6 separate regions of the Homo sapiens genome follow, and regions 2, 3, 4, 5 and 6 are each linked to region 1. Evidence: promoter capture Hi-C in 16 types of primary human blood cells and fetal thymus (Javierre and others, 2016). All regions are on one chromosome and are shown on one strand. The core of a region is centred on a gene start or on the middle of the fragment in contact, and the rest is flanking DNA. Distances in the headings are between cores, read along the strand shown.

Region 1 (4,669 bases), core at 567-3,066:
TAAAGGTAAGCACCTTCAAAAGGAAAAATCACATTCAGAGTGTGGTTGATAACTTTACTATTATTTATGCACCACTTGTGAATACTGAAAGGCTTAAAGTGAGCATTTGACACAAAAGAAGTTAAGCCCATGCAGAAAACTGCCTTTTCCACTCATCTTAAAGTAGGAAGTTATTTTTCAGACCCAAGTTTTTAAATTTTACTTTTAAAAGTTTTATAGTAGACAATATAAGTAAAAACAAAAACTTCGTTTAACATACTTCTAGAAATCTTGGATATTATTAATTTGGGGCCTTAGGCACAAAGAAACTATATTCATTCTTGCTTTGACCCCCATAGCATTTAAACAATCTATTGAGTGGTAATTTGTTTTTGAAGGAACATGCTACATGTTTTAAACTATTTTATAAAAGAGTCCCATACACTAAAGAAACATGCATTATGGATAACTTTTTGAAAGAAATTCTAGATCAGCACTGTCCAATAAAATTGTCAATGATGAAAATGCTGTATTTCTGTGCTGCCCAATATGGCAGCCACTAGCTGCAGGTGACCAGCAAGCACTCAAAAAGTATTTAGTGTACCTGGGGAACTAAATGTTTTATTTTATTTAACTTATAATTTAAGTTTAAACAGCCACACATGGCTACTGGCTTCCATACTGACCAGCACAAGTCTAGATTTTCTGGTCATTTACCTCAAACACACACACACAGGCCCACTAACTTAAAAAGCAATCACCCGAAATCTAGAAGAATCCCTCAAGTCAAAAGAAGGTCTTAGTTAAGAGAGGACTTGTTTTCTAGTCTCAAGAAACAAAGTCATTGGTTTCATTTCATTATCGCATCTCAATATAAACATCAAGTGGACAATACTGAGGGGGAAAGGGAGCTTGGTGCAGATACCAACAGAAGTTCCTACCATCATCATACCTGAAGTAAGGGCTGATTGCAGCAAGAACGTTTCTATGACAGGAAAATGTTTTCCCGTGATCCACTTCCACTACAATGTCTGTCAACTGTCCTTCATCGTACATTGTTTTGAGTTGCTTAAGAATACTGCAAGCATGGAAGGGGTCCATGGCATCGCTGGCTGGGTCTGAAGATGGAATCCCATTCGGTGTTGGGGAAGACTTACTTAAATCTAGGAGGAGAAAAATCGTACAACTACAAGAAGTGCCGAGCCAGTTACGGCATCGCGGGATTTTTCTGTTTGTGTGTCTGCTTGCTAGGCTTTTTCCCCCTACAAGATATATACAAATGTCTGTGGATATACGCACGACCTCGTGGGACCGCGAGTTAAGGATCTGGGAGACAGAGGGCGGAGCGCGATCGGCGGAACAAGTTCAAAGGCCAGCCTGCTCCTGCGGAGCCCGGCGAGCCCGGCACCCGTGCTCGCGGAGGAAACGCGCTCGCAGCCCAGGAGAGGCGTCTGCGCGGACTCCGCCGAGAGCCGAGGGCAGAGCCTCACGAGGGAAGCTCGAACAACGGCGGCCGCCGGTGCCCCCTCAAGCCGCCTCCCGCTGCCTCCTGGGGCGCAGCGCCGGCGGGTACCCAGCCTCCCCATCCCGGTCCCGCCGGACCGCCCACCGCCCTCCGCACCATTCATCCTCCCTCTTCTCATTCCCCTCCACCGCTTCATCCTTCCCTCTAGCTCCGCACCGCTACGTCCTCATCCCACTGCCTGTGGCCGGCCCCGGCCCACCTTCCCCCTCACCTCCCTCCACGCCGCCCTGGCCACCACACGACCCACCTGCCGACGCGGCCATTTCTCGATGGGGCCCCGACTCCAGCTATTTAAAAAGGAAATGTCATTTCGCTTCTCTAGCTCCCGGGTTCCGGCTCTTCTAAGCTTCCCCTGGCCAATGGGGTGTCCTGTGCATCTGGCTCCACCCCTAGCCTCCGAATTCCTGGCGCTGATTGGCCACGACGCGAGCACATGCGTGTCGGGAAATGTAGTTTGATTGCCCCGGCTCCCGCGTGGTCCGGGTCGGGCGGAGGCCCAAGCCGGGAATTCCTATTGGCTGATTCGGATGGAGGTGGAGAGCAGGGAGCTGGCCAGCCTGTGGCCGTCGAGCGCGCAGTGCCTGCCGGGAGAGGTAGTCTTCTGGCGGAGGAGAACTGTCATTCTGAGGGGCTGGGGTAGGGAAAGCTCTTCAAGTGCGAATTTCCCCATTTTAGGCCTCTCTCCTGGCCCCCGGCACATTTTTTTACCTTTTTCTTCTTCCGTAAACTTCCTGCCAGTGACTAGCTTCCGGTATGAAATCAAGCTCTGCGTGAGAGCTGTAAAACCAGAAAAATGTGGAAATGGACAGGAGGGCTGTTGTCCAAAAATGCAAAGGAAATCTGACGTCCCACCCTGAAGAAAAATATCACAAGGCCCAAAAGCAAGGCGTCTCTGATGAGTCACCTATGACACCCAATTGAAATAGCATCGCCTTGGCCGGGTGCTCTGGTTTCCACAGATTAACTTGGTCTGGTTACAGCGGCTGCTTAGGATCTTCAACTCCCACTGGTGCCTTGCTTTTCTAGCACACCCAGAGAACACCTGTTCCTCACGTGAACATTACAAGGGGATCCAAGATGCTTTACTTTTTGCTCTTGGGAAATGGAGGGGATACAATACTAAGTATTCCGGAATTTCCTTTGAAAAAATACCGGAATGCCCTGAGCCCGGAGCCAGGGATGATTACTGAAGCCCTGGCTCTTTAGTCACTATATGTGAGAACTGACATAAGACCTTTCAACCCCTGAGCGCTTAGATCCTTCATCTGTAACGTGAAGTAATAGTAATCCGTACTCCATGGATTTCATAGGCTGCAACCTTTTGGAAAGAAAATCAAAATTTTACTGTTGACGAATTTTTATTTACTCATCTTGTGTTTCTAACATCTAACGGGGTGCCTGGCACATTATAGATGTTTCATATTTTAAAAATAAATGTAAGGTGCAAATGAGCTAACATTGGGAATGCTATTTCTAGATGTTAAAATGTAAGGAAGTATCAGCGAATGGGAAGAATTTCTAGTAGACATATAGTTAGCCCGTGTGCATAACTTTTCTAGCACTGAAAAGATCAAACCGTTGAACTTCTTGATAAAGAAAGGATCTTGGAATTTAAATTGTGATTGAGAAAGAGAAATAATTATGAAAAACAATTCAGTTCTGTCTTCTAGGTCTGCTGAGAAATTTAGAACTTAAAATACTATAATCCCATGCAAGTTAACAGGAAGTGGTGTTTCCTCATGACTGGGGTTTCTGCATATACATATGCACTTATAATTTCTTCTTTGTGAATGTCCTGTATGCACGTTTCTGGATAGATGAAATTGACTTAATTTTGGTTACTCATAACTTTATTTTTTCGTTTTTATGATGTTGCTTTCTAATTTATTAAAATGGTAGCACTTTATGACAATATGGTTAGTATTGAGGAAAAAAATGGCGTTAATCCTTAGGGTTTGACAACATCTGACGATATTGCAAATAAAAATACAGGGCATGCATTATTTGAGAAATATTTAAACTGAAATATCATTTGTTGTTTATCTGAAATTTAAATTTAATTGGGTGTTCTGTATTTTATCTGGCAACCTTTTCAAATCTGTTAAAATAGAGGAGTTTTGTTTGTGCTTTGTTGTTGTTTTGTAGCCATCTATCTATTTAAGCCTTAAGAAACTTGGCCAATTTTTTAAAAATTCAATTCTCAACTTAGTAACAAACAGACTTGACAATATTGTTTGATTAGTGAGAAGACAGTGTTCTGATTCTTTGACCCACAAAGATTTATAAATTGGAGATGCAGCAGAATACAAAGAACAAAAGCCAATCTAAAAATAAATAGAAAAAAAATTATAGGTAAAAAGTTGCCATTTATATGACACTGTAAATGGACTCCATTCTACTGGGCAGATGGCATTACATAGTAAAGATTTAATCATCACTAAAATGCATTTTTAAAAAACACAGAATATGTAGGAGGATCTCGAAATTCAGTCAGTTGTACCACAACAATTCTTTCTCAATGATCTGTAAGAATACTGGGGAGATTCCTTTTCAGGATTGATACTAAATAGCCAAAGGTTACAGCTTTGTTTTCAAACACCTCTAATTTGAATTTTAGTAAAAACCTCCTGAATCTACTGCACATCTGGAAAGAGCAGCAAAAGTAAACCAGTTTTCATCTTAAGGTATTAAGTACTATATTGCAATTTACTCCTATATTTAAAGTTTAAAGTAAAATCAATTAAGGATGGAAACTGAAAAACTGAACCAGAATATTTGAAGGTCCTATATTTAGTTCAAATTAGACACTTAGAGCTTTATTATTTTAATATTTTTTTTTACCTAGGAATCACAAGCAAAGAGAATTGCTATAATCATGGTTGCTTGAGAGAAGAAAAGTTTTTACGTTTAAATTCTAGCAAAAATGAAGGATTATGAAAGCATCAAATTTGGAAAATGAGAAATTGAAGGCTCCTTGTTTTTTTCTGCTTTCATTTCAAGAGAATGACTTTTAGCAATTATCAGCTATACCCAGGCTACTCTCAATAATACCACACAACACAAGAATGATAGCAACTCTGATGAAGAAGGTGTAAAAGAAAATAGAACTTCACTTCTGCAAATCAATTCTGCAGTTTTCCAATTTCCCTGTTCAGTACTGGTTGG
Region 2 (4,669 bases), core at 593-3,092, 3.0 Mb after region 1:
AAGACGATGTTTGCATACCTGGCCCCTCCTTTATCACTGCTGTTGCTGCCATTGTTGATGACATGATGTGGAAGGGCAGTGAGAAATTTGATACTTGTTCATCTATCTGTTGGACTCAACTAGTAGTGTTGCTTTAGTTTTTAATCTTTTTATCTGAAACGGAGAGTCTATTATAATTTGTCATTTTATTCATTGCAGCGGTTGTGGAACAGGAAATGAAAAAGGACTGGCTTTTTGCCCCTCATTATCGATACTATGTAAGAGAAATGAGAATTCATGCATACAGTCAGCTGCTGGAATCATATAGGTCATTAACCCTTGGCTATATGGCAGAAGCGTTTGGTGTTGGTGTGGAATTCATTGATCAGTAAGTTTGAATAATGCCATGTTAATTGAAGTTTTAAAGTTGCCTTTTAAAATATGTGAACTTGTACAATTTTTTACTTGTTTACATTGGTTCCCTCAATCTTAACGGGGAGGGGAGAGGTTTTTTTCCTCAGTATTATCAAAACATTCGTATCCTGTTGCCTCTGCCTTCCTCATGTCATGTCTGCCCCTTGCATTAACAGATGGGAAGATGAGTTGTAGTGAGGCTAAGTGATTTGTTAAAGGTCATTAGACCAGTTGTTATCAAAAGTTGTCTTCTGTTACTTCTTTGTAGACCACACTGCAGCTACGGTAATGACTCTTAGATCTGATATTTACAGTTGGTCATATTCCCTCTGATAATTCCTTCCAGTTTTTAGGTTGCTGCTGCAATTCTGGTCAGATTGGTTGTTAAATGTGGGACTTTTAGTACTTGCATCAGTGATTAAACAAATAAATACTTAATGAGCCATTCATTACTATATGTTTGGTATTGTTTTACAGCTCCCTTTTCACACTTTCATTGTAGTAGTAGGGAAGAGATGGCAAGGAAGCAAATAAATATAAAACGTAATTTCACATATAGAAATGAACCTATGGAGATGAGAAAATGCTATCCTTACGTACGGCATGCTTAAGGAGGTGAGGTTTGCTCTGAGATTTGAATTGAGAGGAGTCAGCCATATGGAGTCCTTCTGCGTGCAGAAAAGGGAATAGAAAAGGCTAAGGCTTTGAGCCAGGAATAAGCTTGGATGTTGTAGGAACAGAAAATGTCAGGGTGGCTCCAGCATAGTTGGAGTGGTAGGAGATTTTGAGGATAATATATGGAGAGTTAGGTAGGTAATGATTTGTGTAGGGCCTTGTAGGTCATGGGATGGAGCTTGAGTTTTAAGTAAGTTTGATAGGGAGCCATTGGAAGATTTAGAGCCCAAGTTACATGGTCCTATGCAGTGTCTTTATATAAGAAATAGAGTAAGGTGGCAGAGAGGACCAGTTGTGCTGTTTAGTAGCTCTTAGAGGAGATGTTACCGTGGCGTGGACGAGGGTGGTGAGAGTAGAGTTGGGTAGGAGACATACTCAATATGGGATGTCCAGATGGCATCTAGATCAGTGGCTCCCACATGTAGGTGTTTTTAAATGTTGATGATGGTGTTTTCAATGGTCTGCAGTGGAAACTTTAAATGAAGATGCATTTCTTTTAAATAAGACCATTCTCTTTCTAGTATTTTTTAAATTTCGAACATCCATAAAATTGTAAAGAAAGAATTGTACAGTACATTTTAACATATTTGCTTGTTACAATCTATACATTTTATGTTTTTTAACCACTTCAAAGTAAGTTTCAGACACCAACACATTTTTTAAATGATCCCTACCATTTTTTAAATGATCCCTACCAAAATGGAAGGCTGGTATCCCAAGGTTTTGTTCCATTTCTCAATTCTAGTCTGTGAAATTGAAGTCTGATGACCACTCTTAAGAGGGCTGTTCATTAGGGTGCGGGCTGGGCATTATGAGTGTGTTTTTCATGAGTCAGTGGAAGGAGGGGCTTGTTGTGAGCAGTGCATGAGAAAAACGGCTTGGCTTTGCTTCTTTTTCCAGCTCTGTGGCCTTGGTCAGGTTACGTCTCTTCAGTATCGTAACTGTAATGTGGAGATAAAGCCTTCATTAGTTAGGGGCACACACCGCAGTATTCCTTAAGTCATCTTGATGACAAGTGAATGCAAGGCAGCTGGTACCTTTCAGGTAGTAGTTGAATTCAGGTAGTATTTGTTCAGTTTTTTTTTTTTCCCTTCATGTTCTAAGACCAGCTTGAGAGGCAAAGGTTGTACCACTGAGCTCTAGTTGTTGTTACCTAAAAAGGCCTTGTTTTAAATTTCTGTGATACCTAAGAATTTCAAATCTGGGTTGTCATGGATTCTTTATTCTTTTTTTCTCCCTTAAAAAGTTACATTTTAGATGAAATCCCCTTTTTTAAAATGGGCAAAGCAATAATTCTACATCATTTCTCCCCTTCCCTTCCACTTGTTTAGACTAAGATATGTTAGAGAGGGAAAGGGTCGTTGTTTTAGTAAATACTATTGCTGTTGACATGTTAATACTATTGCTGTTGACATGTTTACTGATGGGCTGTGTTCCATAATTTTGTTTTAGGTCTTTTGTTTGAAACAGTTTACTGTTTTTATCAGTTTTGGTCCCTAATTTTTCCTAACCTACAGTTTTTCTCTGAGTACATATGGTTTCATTGTTTGATCTACTTTCTATCTATCTGAATATGAACTTCTAGGATCATGTTTATTCTAGTAGATGATGACTTAAAGCCTGCAGTATAGGAGGGACAACGTCAACTACTGCATGTGCAATAACAAGCTTGAAGGGAAGCTAAATGTTTGTTACAAATTTAAGACAGTATTTTAATGCCGTTTGCATTTTTCTAAGAATTTTCTATAAAGCTAATTCTGTTATTTTTTGTCTCTAAATTAGGGAACTGTCCAGGTTTATTGCTGCCGGGAGACTACACTGCAAAATAGATAAAGTGAATGAAATAGTAGAAACCAACAGGTACTCTCATTTCTCAGAATAAGGGGCATTCCTAAATTTTAAAAGTAGGTCAACTATTGTCATGGAATAATGTGACTGGTAAATAATTCATTTTTTCTTGAATTTATTTATAGACCTGATAGCAAGAACTGGCAGTACCAAGAAACTATCAAGAAAGGAGATCTGCTACTAAACAGAGTTCAAAAACTTTCCAGAGTAATTAATATGTAAAGCCATGTAACTAACAAAGGATTTGCTTTAGAGATAATTATTTGGAATTTTTATAGCTTACTTCACAATGTGCCCAGGTCAGCTGTATAAAATAAATACTGCATTGTTGTTTCTTTCCATTTATTTTTTTCTTAAACACATAGGCCTTCTAGAATCGGGTCCACTTATGTTAAAATAATGTCACTTGAATTATTCATTAATGAAAATCTGGTTTATAGGGTAAGGTTGCAGCTGGGTTCAGCTAGGTTCAGCTCCTGACTGCCTCATCAGTAAAATACGTCAGTAAAATACGGATGTTGACACAGCCCATTATCGCTTACCTTTAAATCTCTTACCTGTAAGCTTCCCGATTTTAGAAAGAAGAGTAGTGGCCTAAAATTAAACAAACAGTGTCTCCCACTTTTAGTATACAAAAGATAGAAGATAAAGAAAATGTGTAATAAGCTTTCCCTCAGAAACAAGTAACCATATAAGGCAGGAAGTTACTCTTTTTTAGGAAGCTGACATAACCTGGATTACAGAATCTACCAAGGCTGATCTCAGTTTTCTAAAACCTTATATGTAAGTATTTATTAGCAAACTGAATCTTTTTTCCAAAAGTAGGACCATAGTAATAATAGCAGTGAGGAAAACAAAGTTGTTCCTCTGTTTGTTTGAAACAGTTTATTAGTTTTATCAGTTTTATTCAGTGTGTCAGATAGGAATAAGTGCTATAAGAAGTATAAAACCAGATAGACAGACAGATAGATAGATAGATAGATAGAGATACAGGGTATAGGCCGTCTTCTGAGGTGTTGTGGAAGGCTTCTATGGTAAGGTGACATTTAAGTGAAAAGGAGGGAGAGCCCATGAACGTATGGAGGGAAGAAAGACGAGGAAAGTCACTGGCAATTTTAAGTGCGGATTTGGCTTACCTTTTACGTCTCACTTACGGCATTCGGTGGCATGGATTGTACAGGCAGCTGGATTTGCTAAAAGATTGAAGAATGGGGTGAGGAGGATGAGGGGGAGAAAATTTGTCAGAGGAGATCCTAGGCTTTTTGGCTTAAGTGAAAGACAGCTAGTGACCTTAATGAGCAGTTTTGGTAGAGGTGAGTTCAGAAGAGAATGGGAAATGGCATTTTACTGTAAAAGGCAAGGGAAGGAAAGAAGAGTTTTGAGTTTTTTTGCTTTAAATAACATTTACTGATGGGAATGATTCCTGTTAACATATTAGGAATAACATATTCCTAATATGGAATTCCTAACAGGAATAACATACTCCTGTTAACATGATCTCATTTGATTGAAAATAATTTGATATAATTCAACATTTCTTCATGATAAAAAAACTCTTCAGTAGACTATGAATAATAGGTTGGGATATCAAAGCCCTATCACAAGGTAATTAATGGCAAAATATTAGAAGCATTATCTTAAAAGTGAAGACAGCAGCTCTCATCGCTGGAAGAAGAGCCATTGGTTGTATGCCAAGGAAAGCAATGTGGCTAGATCTCTGTTTTGAAAGGAGTTTCCTGTAGGCACTGTATTG
Region 3 (4,669 bases), core at 1,112-3,611, 2.1 Mb before region 1:
GAGGATAATACTAATTTTATTTTAAAAAACAAAAACTACCATTCCCATTGTAGGTAAAGTTTTGTAAGAAAATTTTGGGCATCTTGGTGATAGTAGTTATGTAAACAAATACATGTTTTTGTTTTTTCGAAGAAGTCTCCTTCCAAAGGTTTATGTGATTTTTGGGAATATCCTCAGGTTAACTGTGCTCTGAAGAAAGGAAAGAACGGTAGCTCTTCCTCCAGTTGATGTCAGAAGAGAATACTCGCTGGAGTATTAGGCCCTAGTGAGAGATTGGCAGGGATTTGTGAGCCAAGGTTTGAATGGTGACTGGAGCAATAAAGTTGGGAAAGAGTTTGAGCTTTTCCTACAAGGGGAAAGAAAATGGAAAGTCGAGGAGAGAAAAACCAGAACCAATTGGAATGGAACAAAGAGGGATGGTTACCTTAGGCATATATGGAATATAGAGAACATCAAGGAGTGATTTGTTAAAGATGAGTTTAAGAAGAGAAGTAGAGGCCAGGCATGGTGGCTTACACCTGTAATCCCAACACTGGGAGGCTGAGGTGAGAAGATTGCTTGAGCCCAGGAGATCCAGACCAGCCTGGGCAACAAAGGGAGATTTCGTCTCTACAAAAAAATTAAAAAATTAGCCGGGTGTGCACCTGTGGTCCCTGCTGCATGGGAAGCTGAGGTAGGAGGATCGTTTGAGCTCAGGATCTGGAGGCTGCAGTGAACTGTGTTCATGCCACTGTACTCCAGCCTGGGCAACAGAGCGAGACCCTGTCTCAAAAACAAAAACAAAACAACCCAAAAAACAAAAACTGAAGTAGACCATGTATCCAGACATGAAGAAATGTTCATTCATGAATTTAGTATGTAATATTGAGGGGTTTGAGTAGTTTAGGTAAAAGTGTATATTTGTTAGTCAAAGATACACAGAGATAAGGACTTTTTTTTTCTCTCTCTATTTAGGAAGTTTGCATCTGTTACTGACAGTGCTCAAATTGTTCTGGGTATATAGGATAAAGTTGAGCTAGCAAAAAAGGTAACATTAAGTTTTTGGATAGGCATAAAACCTCTACATTATCTTTGTGGAAGATCTTAATGGGACTGAAGTATGGATTAAAATAAGTTAATGAAGTGTTGTAATTGCAGTGTGACCCTTAATGTTTAACTTTTAAGCTTTATTTTTTGTTTATTTTTTAACCTTTGAAATTTCCCTTCTCTATAGCAAAGTTTGTGGGCTCTGTCCAGCTTGTCAAATTTTGAGTTGTGAATTCTCTGAAAAAGATACCACTGAATTGATTTGTTATTGATACAGGCCATACCCTTTAATTTGTGGCTAAAATGGTTGAAGATGGTAATAACGATATGTAGCAAGTACTTCTAAACTATCCATATTATTCCATTTAATCTCAGCAACCTCAGGGTAGGTTCTTGTGTTCAAGGTTAAATAATTTGGGCAGAGTGTCCTGCAAGGATGATGTGTGTGAAAGGCCATTTTATTGAGGTGGAGCAATCTGATTGTTTCATCCTGGAATGGTAAATTAACAAACAGTTCCCAGAAACCATCTAGGAGTTCTTTTGTTTGGGCCGTGCCATAAAAGCACATAGAATATATTACTTAAAATAATCTTAGAAGTCTACTTTATCCCTTTTACAAACCAAAAGAGCTTTCTGTGTGTGGAGCCATTGAATGCAATACTGAAATTAAGTTCTTTGATTTATAACAGGGCCTTTTTTATGTAAGTTAGTACAAAGTGAAGATAAAACATTTACCAAAAGTTTTGAATCAAAAAAGAACAGTGCTTTATTGGAGAGAAAAAAAATTGGCCTGGCATGGTGGCTCATGCCTGTAATCACAGCACATTGGGAGGCTAAGGTGGGCGGATCACTTGAGGTCAGAAGTTCGAGACCAGCCCGGCCAACACGGTGAAACCCTGTGTCTACTAAAAATACAAAAATTAGCCAGGCGTAGTGACTCATGCCCGTAGTCCCAGCACTCTGGAGGCTGAGACAGGAGAATTGTTTGAATCTGGGAGGCAGAGGTTATAGTGAGCCGAGATTGTGCCACTGCACTCCAGCGTGGGTGACAGAGCGAGACTCTGTCTCAAACAAACAAAAAAAAAGAAAAGAAAAATTGACATGCTAAAGTGTTTTTCTTTGAAATTTCAGATTTTTTTCTAATAAGCACACGATTTATTATTTTCATTTATTTTAAAAGTATTTACTGTGTGCTAGGTAGGAAGGAATATGAAGAGAGTAAGAACATGGTCACTTTCATCCAAATAATAGTCTAGTGGGTATGATAGACGTGTATGTAGCAAATATGTTACGAAAAAAGTAATAATGTTCTTATTATATACATGGAGTGATTTCTCTGAGGAGAATATGGAAATATTAGGAAAGAAAATACCATTTGTATAGAACTTAGAGGAGGAAATTCATATCCTTTCCTATCTATATGTGTGGTTATTGTTTTAAGAGTGACCTTTTGAGGCCTTATATATTCAGCTTCTGTGATGTAATAGTAACATTTGCAATTTTAGCTGACACTTTTGGTATTATTCTTTCTTTAAAAACTTGGTGCCGGGCATGGTGGCTCATGCCTGTAATCCCAGCATTTTGGGAGGCTGAGGCGGGCAGATCACCTGAGGTCAGGAGTTCGAGACCAGCCTGACCAACATGGCAAAACTAAAAATACAAAAACTAGCTGGTTGTGGTGGCAGGCACCTGTAATCTCACCTCCCTAGAGACTGAGGCATGAGAATTGCTTGAACCTGGGAGGCGGAGGTTGCAGTGAGCCGAGATCGCACCACTGCACTCCAGCCTGGGTGACAGAGTGAGTGAGACTCCGTCTCAAAAAGAAAAAAGAAAAAAACGTGGTTACAGCCTCTTTTTTTTTTTTTTTTCCATTTTATATACGGTCCAGTGAAATTTTTTTTTTCTTTTTTTTTCTTTTTCATGCAGCTTCTTAGGGGACACAAAATTTGCTGCTTAATCAGCACACACAGGAAGAAGGGGTTAAATGAAGGTTCTTGCATCCCAAGGATGAATCTTATTGTGTATATTTCAGCCAAGACCTGTGGAGTAACACCATAAGGTTCTGAGCTCTAAGAGTGGGATAATTTTTTACAGTGGAAAGTGGCCAGGAATCATAGCATTATTATGCTTTATCTGGGAGGAAGAACACTGTTCAGATTTTCTCTTAATTAAAGCAATACTTAATTAGACTTATGTTAATTTGGACCATTAGCAAGGGTTGACATTTAAGGTTAAATGACCGTTTACCAAAAGTTATTACTGAAATCAAAATACTTAGGCAAAAATATTCCTTCTAAATTTCCTATAAGTAAACTTACTGTGAATTTACTTTTATGTTTGAAAATAAGTTATGTAGATCATATAGATTTATAATATGAATTATAATTTAAATATTTTTCCTGTAGGCCTAAAGATATTGGAAGACCTAAGGCTGAAGTTGCTGCAGAATTTCTAAATGACAGAGTTCCTAATTGCAATGTAGTTCCGTATCCTTTTGACAAAAAGAAAATTACTTAATTTTTAAAAGCTTTTTTCCTTTATTATAAGAGATATTTAACAGAGAATACAGATAAGCAAGAGGGAAAAAAAGTCAGCAGTAGTAACTTTATTACTGAGATAACTGCTGGTAACATTTTGCTATCTATTCTTCCAGTCTTTTCTGTATGGTTATATAAATATTTTTTGGGCCCTGATTTTTAACTTAAGTTTATAAAGCCTGTTTCATCATCTACTTTATTTTGCATTATTGCCCTTAATTTCAGTATCAATTACATATCTCCTTTACTAGAGTGTAAATTCCTAGGCTGGATCCAATTAATCTTTGTTTCTTTATAGTAGCAGACAGAGTAGACAGTCAATATAGTATTAGCCAAATGGAAGGTACATCACAGTAAATTTATTTTTACAAGAAATATGTTTTTAAAAAGGAGTATTTACACTGTAGTTTGAATTTAGATCTGGAGAACTTTTGGCATTTTATAGAAAGTCAGAAGATGTGATTTCTATGTAGAAAGTCCCACAGAATACAAAATCAACATACCGGTGAACTTGTGAAAGTTAATGTAAAATACAATGCCATTTACAACTGCTTAGAAAGAAAAATAAATACTTAGATGTAAACTACAAGATAAGTAAGAGATTTATATAGTGAAAAACTACAAAATGCTGATGAAAGAAACCAAAGAAAATCTAAATAAATGGAGAGATAGTCCATCTTCAAAGATTGGAAGATTAAATATAGTAAAGATGTCATTTCTCCCTAAATTTGTATACATATATACCATAGTTTCTATTAAAATCCCAGCAAAATTGTCGATATAGACGATCTTCTAAAATTTTATATAGAAAAGCAAAGGAATACCTACTACAAATCTGAAAAAGAAAGTGGGAGGAATCACTATCCAAATTCTAGACTTATATAGCTATAGTAATCCAGACTCAGTGGCGTTACCAGAGGGATATATAGATGACTAGAACAGAATAGGGAAGCCAGAAATAGCCCCATATAAGTATGGCCAATTTGTTTTTGATAAAGGTGCAAAACAGTTCCAATGGAAGAAGCATAGTCTTCAACAAATCGTACTGGAGCAATTTCATATCCATAGTTAAAAGATGAATTTTGACCTAAACATACAAAATTAAC
Region 4 (4,669 bases), core at 1,242-3,741, 2.1 Mb before region 1:
TAATGCCAAGACATGGCTGTTTAAAAAATTTAATGTTCAAACAGTTATCACTGATGCTTTTGCACTATTTATTAATAAAATCATATATTGTGTACTTCTTTCACTGAAGTTTTTAAAAGTACATTAAGGGTAATCAGTAGTTCCATGGTAATATAGGAATAATTTTTAAATGTGTAGCAGAGTTATATCAAATTTTTATTGCACTTAATACTTTTGCTACAGCAATTTCTATAGTAAAAATTTACTGGTTTAATTTAACTTTCTGTATCAATATAATTTTTTTTTTTTTTTTTTTTGCGACAGAGTTTCGCTCTTGTTGCCCAGGCTGGAGTGCGATGATGCAACCTCAGCTCACTGCAACCTCTGCCTCCCCGGTTCAGGCAATTCTCCTGCCTCAGCCTCCGGAGTAACTGGGATTACAGGCGCCTGCCACCATGCACGGCTAATTTTTTGTATTTTTAGTAGGGACGGGGTTTCACCACGTTGGCCAGGCTGGTCTCAAACTCCTGACCTCAGGTGATCCACCCCCCCCCGCCCCCCTCGGCTTCCCAAAGTGCTGGGATTACAGGCATGAGCCACCATGCCTGACCATGTTTTTGTTTCTTTTAAGTGAATAAAACTTCAAACAAAATTAAGTACAAATACTAAAAAAGTAGGTGCTAGTATTTTAATATGAGAACATGTATGTGTTCTCATTCTTTGTTTTTGACTTAGATATGGCAGTTTTCTGTTCAAATGTTTTTTGGTTACTTATGTGTCACTGAGTTAAGTTTTCAGTAATCTTTCTAGCTACATATTGACAAATAAGTTTTATTATAAAACCATACGGAATAAATTTATAAGCTCTACCTGAAAAGTTACAGGTGTAGCTTACAATTTTGAAAGTGAAGGAACTAAAATTTAGCACCATATAGGTGCTATAATAATTCTCAAAGTAGCATTGTAAGAAGGTGACTCTATCTGAGAGCTGAATAAATAGTTTTAGATGGTTTAGGTAGGTCATTTCACCAAAGCTGTACAATTAGAAGTCTTGGAACTGTAACTGTACAGCTAATTTCAACCCGAATCTGCCCCAAATCTCCTCTGCAGACTACTTAGCTGTTTGAAAGTACTTGAGTTACTTGGTACTACTTGTGTACATGACTAAATTGTTAGTTTTAACATGCAAGTTTTTACTGTAGTTAGATAAAATTATTGGAAGATGATTATAACTTCTTAAGGGGTTCAATCTGATTTTTTAAAAGAAAAATAATTCTTTTTTGCAGAGTTCCTTGCAGTGGGGTAAAATATTCAAATATGGGAGGCAGGCATATAAGGTAAATAATCACAGCAGGGAGGGTGTAATAGGATGAGTGATAGGGGTCTGTGGCAAACTGGAGTGAGTGAAAATTATTTGGTGACCACTCTGGCTGACTATTCCCATGCTTGGTATTCATATTTTTCAAAAGCAGCTGGAAATCTAGATTTTTGAATGAAATCTGGCTTTTAGTTAGGATTTTGTCTTTAACTTGGGCCCAAACCAAATATAGCTGCAGACTGGATTAGGAAGGCCACCAATTTAAGGTATTTTCCCATGTCCAAATGTTCGAAGAGAATGCACACAGAAAAGGTTATGTTTTAAGTAATATGCACAGTGCACATTGTTAGGATAACAGCTTTAGTGCTTCCTAGGTGTCTTAGTCCATTTGGACTGCTGTAACAAATTGCCATAAACTGGGTGGCTTATAAGCAGTAGCAATTTGTTTCTTAACAGTTCTAGAGGCTGAGAAGTCCAAGATAAGGAGCCGGCAGATTTGGTGTCTGGTGAGGGCTGCTATTCTGGCTTAGAGTTGGTGCCTTCTTGCCGTGAGCTCCCTTGGGCCTCTCTTATAAGGGCACTAACCCCATTTATGAGGGCTCCATCATCATCTAATCATCTCCTAAAGGCTCCCCTTAATACTGTCCCATTGGAGATTAGGTTTCAACATAGGAATTTGTGCAGGGGACACCGACAGACCACAGTATTAGGGGTATTTTGACTGCAGCAATGAGTTTACTACTATTTTGAGAGAGAGGTTGTGCTTTATGCACCATGTGTTCCACGAGTTGGACACAGTGTTCATACGTGATCCTGTCTTTTAGGCAAGCCCAAACAAGTGTTTCTCCTTACAATACCAAGTTAATACAGAGCTTATTAAATATTTGAGACAAAGGGCTAAGAGAAGTGTGAGGCCCAATTTCCCTTTGCAATTATTGCTGGCAAGGTGCAAGCTTTTAGCACGTGAACTATTTTCCTGGAAAGCACACACACGAAAACTTGAATATTCCTTCCGGGGAAATCGACCTCTATCGGTAGCCATAGCTTCCCCTTCGCTAAGAACTGCTGTAAGCACGAAATCGACATCAATAGAAACCCTTCCGCGTTCCTCGGTAACTAACGGCAACCCTGCGCTCCCGGATGTGACGTCAACGTTCTTCTGTTCTTCCGTCTGTCGACCGAACTCTGGGCTCGTAGATTTGGTTGCTGTGTACGTGGAAGAAGCAAGCGCATGCGCACATGGGCCCCCTTCGTCTCAGCTGTGCGGGAACGGCCGAGGGTAACATCCCGGGCTCGCGGGAGGCTGTCGGGGTAATGGCCACACGCTGACAGAACCAGCCGAGTGGAAAAGGGGAGCGAAGCCGTTCCTCTGCACCCTTCCCCAGGCCTGAGGCCTTCCCGCTTGGTGCTGCCGCCGCCACTGCCGGCTGAGGAGGGGCGATGAGTTGGTTCAACGCCTCCCAGCTCTCCAGCTTCGCTAAGCAGGCCCTGTCCCAGGCCCAGAAGTCTATTGACAGGGTTCTGGACATCCAGGAAGAGGAGCCGAGCATCTGGGCCGAGACCATTCCGTATGGAGAGCCGGGTAAGAGAGAGAGGAGCGGGGTTCCTGGCTCCCGGAGGCTGCTGTTCTCTTGATGCAGGCAGGTTAAGTGGTGTAGAGAGGGGTCCTTCCTTGCTGAGAGAGTTTTCAGGAAGTAATTTCTCCCCGGCCCGTTCCCTAATGCTGCTTCAGCCTCCAAGTCGGTCTTTGCTGTTTTCCTGAGGGAAAACCCAGATCCAGGTTCCCCCTTGTCTTTCTTTGGTCCTGGGTGCGAGGCTTGTGGACTTGGATGACAGGGGACTTGGTTGGTTGGTCTTGCCCTCAAGCTCTCCCTCGACGCAGCTTCCAAGCACAACCTTCCCGAACCTGAACCTCGAATTGCTTCGCGTCTCGGGCACTGTTGGGATCCAAGGTCTGAAGTACGTAAATCATCAGGGAAGGGAAGAACAATCGCTAACAGTCAGTGAACATTTCGCGCTTGGTAGCGCGTAATGTGGTTTTATGTTGTTGTTGAGACGGAGTCTCACTCCGTCGCCCAGGCTGGAGTGCAGTGGCGCGATCTCGGCTCACTGCAACCTCCGCCTCCCAGGTTCTAGCGATTCTCCTTCCCCAGCCTCCCTAGTAGCTGGGATTACAGGCGCCCACCACCACGCCCGGCAACTTTTTGTATTTTTAGTAGGGACGGGGTTTCACTATGTTGGCCAGGCTGGTGGAACTCCTGACTTAAGGCGATCCACCCACCTCGGCCTCCTAAAGTGCTGGGATTACAGGCACGAGCCTGTAATGTGCTTTTTTATGGCCTTCTCATCTTCAGAACAACTCCCAGAGAGAGCTTGGTTTATATCCGTGTTTTACATAAGAGGAAAATGAGGCCCAGAATGGCCAAGTAACTTGCTCTAGGTCACACGGCGGAGGAGGATTAGAATGTGCCGGAGGTATTAGCCGGAAAATGTGTGACCCAAGATTTCTGGATGGTATCACATTTTATTTCTGAATAGCCAAGTCTCTCTTTGCAGTTTCATTGAGCTTAATCTTTCAGGGATCTTCATTCAGTTGCTTTTGACTCTTAAGTCTAAGGAACAGTTCAGCATTTGATGTGTGGGGTAAAGATTTGCTGGTGTTGGGGGATGTGAACCTTTGTGTGAAAAAGGATAAGAGATGTACTTGACTACTCCTTTCTGGTTTCTGTTCTTAATTTTACATCATTGAAAAGTCAGGACCTAAATTTGAGGTACCTCAGTTTAAGATATTTTGGTCCATGTGTGTATGTGATGATCCTCTTTACTTTTTACAAGATGTCATATAACCTTGCTGGAGTAACTCTGTTTTTTCATATGTGCCCCAGTTAATTAGAATTACTAAACTTTAGATAAGATAGAATATAGGTTTTACATATAAGGATATTTGTTTTCGGAAAATGCCCATAGTCTTCAGAATGGTATAATTTAGATGGATACCAAATAACCCTGGGATTATATAAAGTATTCTCCAAGAGGCAAAATTAATTCCTGTCATCTTTTGAATGTATTTAAATTAATCAGACATAATCTTGGTTGTTCATTTGCATATTTAATTTTGATTTTCTCTGGTTTGGATATTGTGCAAATGAATGTGTAGAACTATGCCTCCAAACTGAAGTTTTCTACATACTTTTCATCCTAACTGCCTTTGAAGTCATACATATATTTACATATATATATATTTGTTTTTTTGTTTTTTTTTTTTTTGAGACACAGTCTCACTCTGTCATCCAGGCTGGAGTGCAGTGGTGCCATCTCTGTTCACTGCAGATTCTGTCTCCTGAGCTCAAGTGATTCTCGTGCCTCAACCTC
Region 5 (4,669 bases), core at 694-3,193, 2.0 Mb before region 1:
TTAGTAATATTTTGTTGATTGTTGTTATATGTATCATCACAATTGTCTCATCTGGATGTTAGAAGACACTGTTAAGCCATAAGTGAGAATATGTTTTCTTTTGATCTTTCCTGTGGTGTGGGCTAAATGCCGGGTAATACTTATACCACCATGGAACAAAGAGACTAAATTTTATATCAAGTGTGCTTACATTAATGGGAGAGAAGTCATATATGGGGAGAATTGTAGATTTAGTGGAGAGATAGGGTAAAATTGATAGCCATCTAGCTTGGTTTTTTTCTTTAATTCCTTTTTTTGCTATTTAGTTCAACATAGACTGAAGTGTGAGTTTAATTTTTAAAAGAGATGAGTATATACTTTTATTTAAATTGTAGTGTTTTCATTGTTGACTCCTATGGCAATATAAATATTAAAGATGTTCTGTGTAGTTATTTTAAAAATTGTAAACAAATACATTTTTCAGGATTTGGATCAAAGGTACAACACTATTCTGCAGATGTATGGAGAAAAAGCAGAAGAGGCAGAAGAACTTCGATTAGATCTCGAAGATGTAAAAAATATGTACAAAACTCAAATAGATGAACTTTTAAGACAAAGTCTCAGTTAACTTGTGAAAATTGAATTCCCATCAAACTGAATGTAAGCATTTAATATCTAAACATTTAATGTGGACTTCCAATAAATTCTTTTATAGAATTAGAAAGTGGGATTTACTGTAGAGTGTAAAAATTTTTTTAAAATTGTTTTACACTATGTAGTAATATTTACAGTTAAATTATTTTGTGCAATATTTGAACTTTATTTTTGAAACTATTCTTTAAAGATTTATTTTTTAAAGCATTCATTTTTTTTCCTTGAATAGCACAGAGATTTATTACTTTATCCTCATATAAATATGGCTAGAGAAGAAGAATGGTGTTCATATATGTATTGTAGATATACAACTAGTTGTATCTATAATTTGTAAGTGTTTATATATATATTAAGAACATTTGAAGAGTAATGTTAACATACTGAAACTTTGAAATCTTTCACATTTAAAATTTCAACATATCTTAATTACTGCTCATGAAAATGTACATTAAGTGTTAAAGTAAAAAATTATTAAATCTGTGGCTATTAAATTTTAAACTAATTTTTTTCCTTTAAAAGTAAGAGTCACACTGACACTGTCTGAAATTTAAAGAGTGAATGATTTAAACTTAAAAAAAATTTTGATCTGAAAATTTATTTCACCCAGCTTTCACAATTAAGTCTGTATAAAATGTGGTACCTTTTGGTACCTATCCAGAGAAACCTGTACATATTCAATGTTATCTAGATGTGATTGGATAATGGAGAAAATTTATTTATAATGATTTTGCAATGGCATCAATAACATTTAAATGATTTTGAAGAAGTATTATTTTACTACCCTATAAAATGAATCGAAAATAATAAAGTTCTTAACATAATTTACTCTTTAAAAATTACCTGTTCATATTTTGTAAACCCATATTTTTAGCACATTAAAAATGAATGTTTGATATTACAGAATATTCATAACAAAATGGAAGAATTATAGGAATTAACTTGAATTTGGCATTTTTAATTTTGTGATTTATCATTTTATTTTTTCTTGAAATTTCAAACACAAGGAAAGCATAGAATAGCTTTTAAAAGTAGCTATGCCTTCTTCCAAATGTTATTTTATTCAAAAAGGTAACCAGGTTGTGTTTTAAACCTGTGAAATATTGTGATGCATTTTATTACTGAAAGTTATTTAACTGCCTTTACTTGCACATAAAAACTCTCATTTACGGCCAGGTGCTGTGGCTCATGCCTGTAATCCCAGCACTTTGGGAGGCCAAGGCGGGCATATCACCTGATGTCAGGAGTTCAAGACCAGCATGGCCAGCAGTTTGGTGAAACCCCATCTCTACTAAAAATACAAAAATTAGCCTGGCGTGGTGGTGTGCGCCTGTAATCCTAGCTACTCGGGAGGCTGAGGCAGGAGCATTGCTTGAACCTGGGAGGTGGAGGTTACAATGAGCCAAGATTGTGCCACTGCACTCCAGCATGGGTGACAGAGAAAGACTCCGTCTCAAAAAAAAAAAAACAAACTCTTATTTAATTTTTAGTTAAAATTAAAACACTAGTACTTCAGAATATAGATACAAGTACACCATCTTGAAGAATTTGGAGTTTTTCAGGGCAATTCAAATGACCTCATTTTTTGTTCTTTTTGTATTCCAGACAGTGTTTCTGTCATTGGATCTCTGATTGGTAGTGTTAATAAATATTCTTTCAGTGTGAGCCAGATTCATAAAATTAATTTTCTTCATTTTAGTAGTAAAAAGTAGTCTAATAGCTTTTTGTCAGCTTGATTTTTTTGTGTGTGTAATATTCAAGGGCAGAATGACAGGACAGATAAGCAATAAGAAATGTATAGAATTAGAAAATATAGTAGTTCCCTCTTACCCATGGGACATACGTTCCAAGACCCCCAGTGAACGTCTGAAACCATGGATAGTATAGACACCTCTATACACTGTTTTTTCCTATACATATATACCTATGATAAAGTTCTATTTATAAATCAGGGACAGCAAGAGATAAACAATAACTGCAAATAGAACAATTATAACAGTGCACTGTAATAAAAGTGATGTAAATGTGATATGTCTGTCTCTTTCTCTCAAAATATCTTATTGTACTGTACTCACCTGTAATCAGACTGTGGTTGACCGTGAGTAACCGAAACCACAGAAAGCAAAATCGTGGATAAGGGGAGACTACTCTATATGAAACTTAAGTTACAAAATTCTCTGAAGCATTTGAAACTAGACGTTTTGGAATTATAAAATAGTCCCTTTAAAATATCCACTAGTAGAAAAAAACTTCATTTGCAGAGAAAAGATTGCAATAAAACTCATTCCTAAACTTTTCAATTTTATAAAATTAAACATTCTTTTTTTATCCGTATTAACAATTTCTAGTTACATAGTTTCTAGTTACATATTACCATATATTACTCTTTATCTACAAATAAATAGCTGATACTCAAACTGATCATATTTTGATTGTTAAACACTTGGATCTCTCAATACTTCTGTAAGTTAAAGTGAACTTAAACAGTTTCTTGAAAAACTCCAGTAGGTGGCAGAATACCTATTGAATATTCGTTGCTATACTTTGCTGTTTGTCATTAAAACATCTCTACCCATATTCTTGCAAAATAATATTTATATTTTAATGGATAGGAAAATGATTTGCAATTAGATGTTTCCATTCTTGAAAGAAAAAAGCTGCAAATAACATTTTCAAGAATATAAAAAAATGAGTAAACAAAGGGAAGGTTGTTTGGTCATTTATAGACAATTAAGCACAGACTGTAGATGTCCTTCCAATTCTTGGGAGGCTAAACTGAGTCTACCATTTCTTACATTTCTTTTACCTATTTTTTGAGAATTGCCAGTTGTACAGTGTTTAGCATGTGGAATGTACCAAATATATCTATGTTGTGACTTAAGATATTCTAAATGTGGATAACTTCTGACCTAGGAAACATGAAGTTTGTAGTGAAGTAAGTGAAAAGAATGTTCAGGAAATTTTTTTTCTCCATCTCTTCAGTTGGCATTTATTGAGAGTTTTATTTGAATGCTTATTAAAAGTATATGATTTATAATATTTAGAAAATAGAAGAAAAAAGAAAACTGTAGATGTTTTATCTTGTTTTAATACTGTATGTTTAGTACGTATACATTTATGTTCTAGTGTATCAAAATTTTTCATTTTCATTAAAGTGAATCCAATTTTCCATATTCTAGGTCCATTTTAAACCATGAAAACTTTAATCACATATTTTGTAAAGGGCTGAAAGTATGATTTAAACTACAGATTGATATATTTTAATTCTAAATGAAAGGTAATGTAAATAAGCATGGATCTGATTGAATAAAGATTTTAAAATAGTAATAGTGTATTTCATTTTTAACAAAATTTATAGTGGTCAATAGTAATGAGTGAAGAATGAATATTGTTTTATGAAAATATAACTTGTTTACATTTGAGATTAATATTTTAAGAAAATGAAGCCCTAATTTTCTATAAGTTACATTATTAGTATTAAGTGTAGTTTTTTTTTTTTTTTTTGACAGAGTCTCACTCTGTTGCCTGGGCTGGAGTGCAGTGGTGTGATCTCAGCTTACTGCAGCCTCTGCCTCCCAGGTTCAAGTGATCCTCCTGCCTTAGCCTCCCAAGTAGCTGGGATTACAGGTGCGCACCAGCACATCCGGCTAATTTTTGTATTTTTAGTAGAGATGGGTTTCACCATGTTGGCCAGGCTGGTTTCGAACTCAAGTGACCTGCCCACCTTGGCCTCCCAAAGTGCTGGGATTATAGGCATAAGCCACTGCGCCCGGCCCTAAGTTCATTATCTTCTAATGAAGATATGTTTTCGGAAAACACAGTGCTAAGAATTTACTTATAACTAGCTGGTAACTACTGTAAGGATAGTTTGTGTCAGTTTTTAATCTTAAGCAATATCAAGACATTCTTCTAAAAGTCTTATGTTTCTGTATTCAAGTAATAACAACAGTTAAAATAAGTTATCCTCTATTTCTGAGTTCATATTGCTTGGATTAAGCTCTGTAACCTTTAAAGTACTTTTAATCTGTTGCCTTTATAC
Region 6 (4,669 bases), core at 1,261-3,760, 2.0 Mb before region 1:
GCTTGGCTAATTTTTTAATTTTTGAAGAGATGGGGTCTTCTAACGTTGCCCAGGCGGGTCTCAAACTCCTGAGTTCAGGTGATCCTCTCACCTCAGCCTCCCAAAGTGCTGGGATTATAGGTGTGAGCCACCAAGCCTTGCTGAAGGGGTATATCTTGAATTTGTTTTTGATGATATGGCAGAGGGGTTGGGGAATGGGTGGGGGGATGGATGACTCAGACAGGCCATGAGTTAATCGCATTGCAAAGTTGGGTTGTGGATACATTAGGGTCCTGATAGGATTCTGTTACTTTCATATACACTTGAAATTTTCTATTGTAAATAGTTAAATTCTTTTAAAAAATTCAGTTTGGAAATTGGTAATCCACTTTAGTTACAACCCACGTGCTTGGGTCATGAAGACGTTTTCTGAACTTAACTTAATGTTTTGTTATATACCAGATTTAAGGAGGACTTTTTCCAGAGTGGTGAAATTGGAGGGCACTGTAAACTTGACATCCGTACATTGACGTCTGAAGGTCAGCGCAAAAGCCCTCTGCAGTCATGGTAAGATATTTTTAACGTATCTGTTTCGGAAATATTTGCCTTTATTTACGGCACTTGCAGATATTAATGGAGACTCTCAAATGGAAAATGTTACTTCATTTGTACATAATTTGGCATGAGCTTCTGGGAAGTGACGGAAACCGAGTGAATCCCTCAGTTGCATCTGAATTAAGTATGTGTTTATAATAGTAGATACAGTACTTACTGTTTGCTAATGAAAGAAAAAAATCAGCTTAAAAATCCATTTTTATTAACTCACAATTGCCAAGTTTTATTCACTTACAAAGTCACATAGGTTACTTACATAATGTTAATTTTTGAGGTCAAACGTCCATGCCAAGGCCAGGAATGGTGGCTCATGCCTATAATCTCAGCACTTTGGAAGGCCAAGGTAGAAGTATTACTTGAGCCCAGGAGTTCAAGGCCAGCCTGGGCAATATGATGAGACCTCAAATCTAAAAAATAAAAATGTGTTTTGGGGAACCCATTTAAAAAACAATACACATATATTAAAGTATGTAAAAGCATACAGAAAAAGGTACAGTTTGGATTGTGAAAAAGTGAACCCACCCATGTAACTTTTACCCAGGTCCAAAAATAGAACATTGTCAGCACCTCAGTCTCCCTCCCAGGCTCTACCCCCATCCCCCTCTCCAAAGGTAGATGCTACTCTGACTGTTAACATCATTGGCCAGCTTTTTGAATTTAAAAAGTTTGTATTTTAAAATAATTTTAGACTCATAGAAGTTTAAAAATAGTATGTATTATACCCAAGACTGACTAACTTACAAAGGAAAGAGGTTTAATGGACTCATGGTTCCTCATGGCTGGGGAGGCCTCACAATCATGGTAGAAGGCAAAGGAGGAACAAAGGCACGTCTTACATGACAGCAGACAAGAGAGCGTGTGCAGAGGGAACTGCCCTTTATAAAACTATCAGATCTTGAGAACAGCGCAGGAAAAACCCACCCCCATGATTCAGTTACCTCCCACCGGGTGCCTCCCATGATGGGAGCTACAATTCAAGATGAGATCTGGGTGGAGACACAGCCAAACCATATCATACTACAAGGAGAACTTGTACGTTGTCTAATTCCCTGAGCTTCCTCTAATGATAATATCTCATATAACCATGGCACAATGATCACAACCATGAAATTGACATTGGTACAGTAGTATTAACTTGTGCAGGTTTTACCAGCAATTACCTGTACTCATTAAAATTTTATCACTTGTGTAGGTGCGGGTATGTAGGTAGGGAGAGAGAGGGGGAGGAGGACGGGGAGGGCGACCACCACAATCAGGATGCAGAATTGTTCCATCATCCCAAAGAAACTCTCCTGCTACTCCTGTATAGTCACATAGGTTACTTACATAATGTTAATTTGTAAGGTCAAATGTCCATACCAAGGCCAGGAATGGCGGCTCATGCCTATAATCACAGCACTTTGGGAGGCCAAGGCAGAAGTATTACTTGAAGCCAGGAGTTCAAGACCAGCCTGAGCAACATGATGAGACCTCATCTCTAAAAAAGAAAAATAAAAAATAAAAATAAATTAGCTGGGCGAGATGGCATGCCCCTGTAATCCTAGCTACTTGGGAGGCTGAGGCGGGAGGACTGCTTGAGCTCAGGAGGTCGAGGCTGCAGTGAGCTATGATTGCACCACTGCACTCCAGCCTGGGCGATGGATCAAGACCCTGTCTCAAAAAAAAAAAGAAATTCATGCTGAGCAAACCTTTTTTTTTTTTGTCCTTAAAGAGGCCTCACTGCCTGGCTGCAGATCATTCAGAATAATGATCTACCACACATTTATCTGGGATTTTGCAGTCTGCAATGCAATGTCTCAAGTCACTTAGCAGACTTTTACAAGAGGTAGTTTCTATATTCAAGTGGGCTTTTTGATTCCTGGTACTTTCTGATATTTGATTCCACATGGTAGTTGCTCAGGGCATAATTGTATTAGTTGCTTATTGCTGTGTGACAGGCTATTCCAAAGTGTACCCTAGGGTATATTTATATTTATTACCTATTGTTGTATAACAAATGACTCTAAAATTTAGCAGCTTAAAATACAAACATTTATTATCTCACAGTACTTCTGAGGGTCAGGGTTTGGGAGCAGCTTGGCTGAGTTGGCCAGGGCTGTAGCCATCTCTAGACTCAACCTGGGCCTGGAGAATCTGCTGCTAAACTCACTCAGGTTGTTGTAAGCCTCGGCTCCTTTTGGCACCATCTCGGCTCACTGCAACCTCTGCCTCCCAGGTTCAAGCGATTCTCCTGCTTCGGGCTCCTGAAAATGGCTGGGACTAAAGGCGCTCGCCACTACGCCCAGCTAATTTTTGTATTTTTAGTAGAGATGGGGTTTCACCGTGTTGACCAGGATGGTCTTGATCTCCTGACCTCGTGATCTGACTGCCTCTGCCTCCCAAAGTGCTGGGATTACAGGTTTGAGCCACTGCACCCGGTCTGTTCCTTGTCTTAACATTAAAATTGATATCAACCTATATAAAAGTCAGTAAGTTTTAGAAGTTACAGGTGTCCATAGGAGTGTCTGTACCATTTAGAGGTAAAATCTGCCTAATGAACAGATCCTAAGTTACAGTGTTCTAATAGGAAGTTTGGGAGAATCAGTTTGAAGTCATGTCCCAATTCATAATTTCAGGTTTGCTGAGCTACAAAGCTATACTCAGCTCAACTTCAGACCTATAGAAGATGCTAAATGTGACATTGTCATTGAAAAACCAACATATTTCATGAAATTAGATGCAGGTGAGAAATAACTTTTTCTGTTATTTGTGTATTTGTTAATGAGATATTATTCCTTTTTTTGGATGTAGTAATTCTCTCTGAATTTTTTGGAAGCAGTATGACAAACAGTAGATTTGTTTTTTTTGCTTTCTTCTCTGAAGAAGTAGTTGAACTAATTTGAACTTCCCATTATTTTATAACTTGGGCATTTTAGAAGAAACTTTCACATTTATATCAAAGGACTTAACCAAAATCAAAGGACGAGAGGTGAAGGCATATTTATGCCTTTTGTAACTAAATTTACCTCATCTGGTTTCTCTAATCACTTGGTTTAGATTGTCTTTCATTAAGATGTTTAAAATCAAAAGCTAAGCCGGGCGCGGTGGCTCACACCTGTAATCCCAGCACTGTGGGAGGCCGAGGCAGGCAGATCACGAGGTCAGGAGATCGAGACCATCCTGGCCAACATGGTGAAACCTCGTCTCTACTAAAAAAACACAAAAAATTAGCTGGGCGTGGTGGCAGGCACCTATAGTCCCAGCTACTCGGGAGGTTGAAGCGGGGGAATCGCTTGAACCCAGGAGGCAGAGGTTGCAGTGAGCCAAGATCGTGCCGCTGCACTCCAGCCTGGTGACAGAGCAAGACTCCGTCTTAAAAAAAAAAAAAAAAAATCAAAAGCCATGTGTATAGTATGGGTGGGAAAGAAGTGTCCATGACCTGCGCTGACAAACTTTCTGTATCATTTCCATGACTAAAGTGAACTTAAAATTCTTCTGGAAGTTACCAGTGTAATTTATTCTTGACATAAAATTAAAATTATTTTATCATTTATACTTATAGCCTCTTTCTCAGCTTGCAAGCAGAGCTTTAACTTTGCGAACTAGTTACACTGGGGAGGAGAAACACAGATTGTACTATATTATCTCTTTCATTATGAGAGACAGGGATTACTGTGCTAGATCATATCAAAATTCATGAGAGGTTGGGTTTACAGTGAAATATAGAGAGCCTCTGTCACAAATATTTCAGAATTAGTATAATTTATTGATCATAGTTTTAATGTGCTCTGCCTTCTGAAGTCATAGTTCTTATATTACAAAGTATTAAATTCAGAAATCAGACAAGTTTAGGTTTTTGAAATAAAAGCGAGTAAAAATGCTATGTTCCAGGTTTTGACTCGTTTTTAAAACATGCAAATTAAAAAGGGGCAAAGAAAACACTGATCCGTCTGTAAAAGTGGCAAATATGTGTGAGCTATTAAATTTATGCAGATACTTATACAATAAAGTATATAAAGTGAGAATAATAGGCTAGAGTAGACATGTCTCATTTCTTTCCTATATTCATAACTCTACTTTTTTCTTCTAATTTATG

The links. Contacts are between HindIII fragments. The CHiCAGO score rates a contact against its expected background, and 5 or more counts as called.
Region 2: the fragment with the promoter of PSMD6-AS1 here is called in contact with the fragment with the promoter of KBTBD8 in region 1 in 6 of 17 cell types (erythroblasts, activated CD4 T cells, total CD4 T cells and 3 more); the score reaches 13.5 in erythroblasts.
Region 3: a fragment that was not itself captured here is called in contact with the fragment with the promoter of KBTBD8 in region 1 in 5 of 17 cell types (total B cells, naive B cells, naive CD8 T cells and 2 more); the score reaches 13.0 in total B cells.
Region 4: a contact is called between the fragment with the promoter of TMF1 here and the fragment with the promoter of KBTBD8 in region 1, in 13 of 17 cell types (naive CD4 T cells, total B cells, total CD8 T cells and 10 more). The highest score is 32.1, in naive CD4 T cells.
Region 5: a fragment that was not itself captured here is called in contact with the fragment with the promoter of KBTBD8 in region 1 in 9 of 17 cell types (erythroblasts, naive CD8 T cells, M2 macrophages and 6 more); the score reaches 9.1 in erythroblasts.
Region 6: a fragment that was not itself captured here is called in contact with the fragment with the promoter of KBTBD8 in region 1 in 8 of 17 cell types (M1 macrophages, M0 macrophages, M2 macrophages and 5 more); the score reaches 16.9 in M1 macrophages.

What each region holds. Positions count from the first base shown.
Region 1 is chr3:66,995,454-67,000,122 of GRCh38, reverse strand. It overlaps KBTBD8 (kelch repeat and BTB domain containing 8), which reads right to left and starts at 1,816. Exons shown (of 4, transcript NM_032505.3): 1 at 1,752-1,816; 2 at 932-1,142. The coding sequence starts at 1,767. RefSeq lists enhancers at 1-95, 2,059-2,158 and a silencer at 1,399-1,718. The HindIII fragment of the contact is 2,180 bases long and covers 1-1,852 here.
Region 2 is chr3:64,009,137-64,013,805 of GRCh38, reverse strand. It overlaps PSMD6-AS1 (PSMD6 antisense RNA 1), which reads right to left and starts at 1,842. Exons shown (of 2, transcript NR_189168.1): 1 at 1,764-1,842. PSMD6 (proteasome 26S subunit, non-ATPase 6) reads left to right here. Exons shown (of 8, transcript NM_014814.3): 6 at 199-367; 7 at 2,851-2,928; 8 at 3,042-3,255. The coding sequence ends at 3,138. It overlaps PSMD6-AS2 (PSMD6 antisense RNA 2), which reads right to left. Exons shown (of 3, transcript NR_038286.1): 2 at 4,053-4,109; 3 at 1,563-2,009. The HindIII fragment of the contact is 1,623 bases long and covers 1,116-2,738 here.
Region 3 is chr3:69,066,771-69,071,439 of GRCh38, reverse strand. It overlaps UBA3 (ubiquitin like modifier activating enzyme 3), which reads left to right. Exons shown (of 18, transcript NM_003968.4): 6 at 3,432-3,512. Among named protein-coding and RNA genes, the nearest start is that of UBA3, 11 kb to the left of the region's middle. The HindIII fragment of the contact is 2,389 bases long and covers 1,167-3,555 here.
Region 4 is chr3:69,050,155-69,054,823 of GRCh38, reverse strand. It overlaps TMF1 (TATA element modulatory factor 1), which reads left to right and starts at 2,491. Exons shown (of 17, transcript NM_007114.3): 1 at 2,491-2,879. The coding sequence starts at 2,738. It overlaps UBA3 (ubiquitin like modifier activating enzyme 3), which reads left to right. Exons shown (of 18, transcript NM_003968.4): 18 at 1-94. RefSeq lists an enhancer at 2,430-2,899. The HindIII fragment of the contact is 2,649 bases long and covers 2,253-4,669 here.
Region 5 is chr3:69,019,115-69,023,783 of GRCh38, reverse strand. TMF1 (TATA element modulatory factor 1) reads left to right here. Exons shown (of 17, transcript NM_007114.3): 17 at 464-3,957. The coding sequence ends at 607. Among named protein-coding and RNA genes, the nearest start is that of EOGT, 7.8 kb to the right of the region's middle. The HindIII fragment of the contact is 9,838 bases long and covers 1-4,669 here.
Region 6 is chr3:69,000,255-69,004,923 of GRCh38, reverse strand. It overlaps EOGT (EGF domain specific O-linked N-acetylglucosamine transferase), which reads left to right. Exons shown (of 18, transcript NM_001278689.2): 8 at 442-546; 9 at 3,210-3,316. Among named protein-coding and RNA genes, the nearest start is that of EOGT-DT, 11 kb to the left of the region's middle. The HindIII fragment of the contact is 6,572 bases long and covers 1-4,669 here.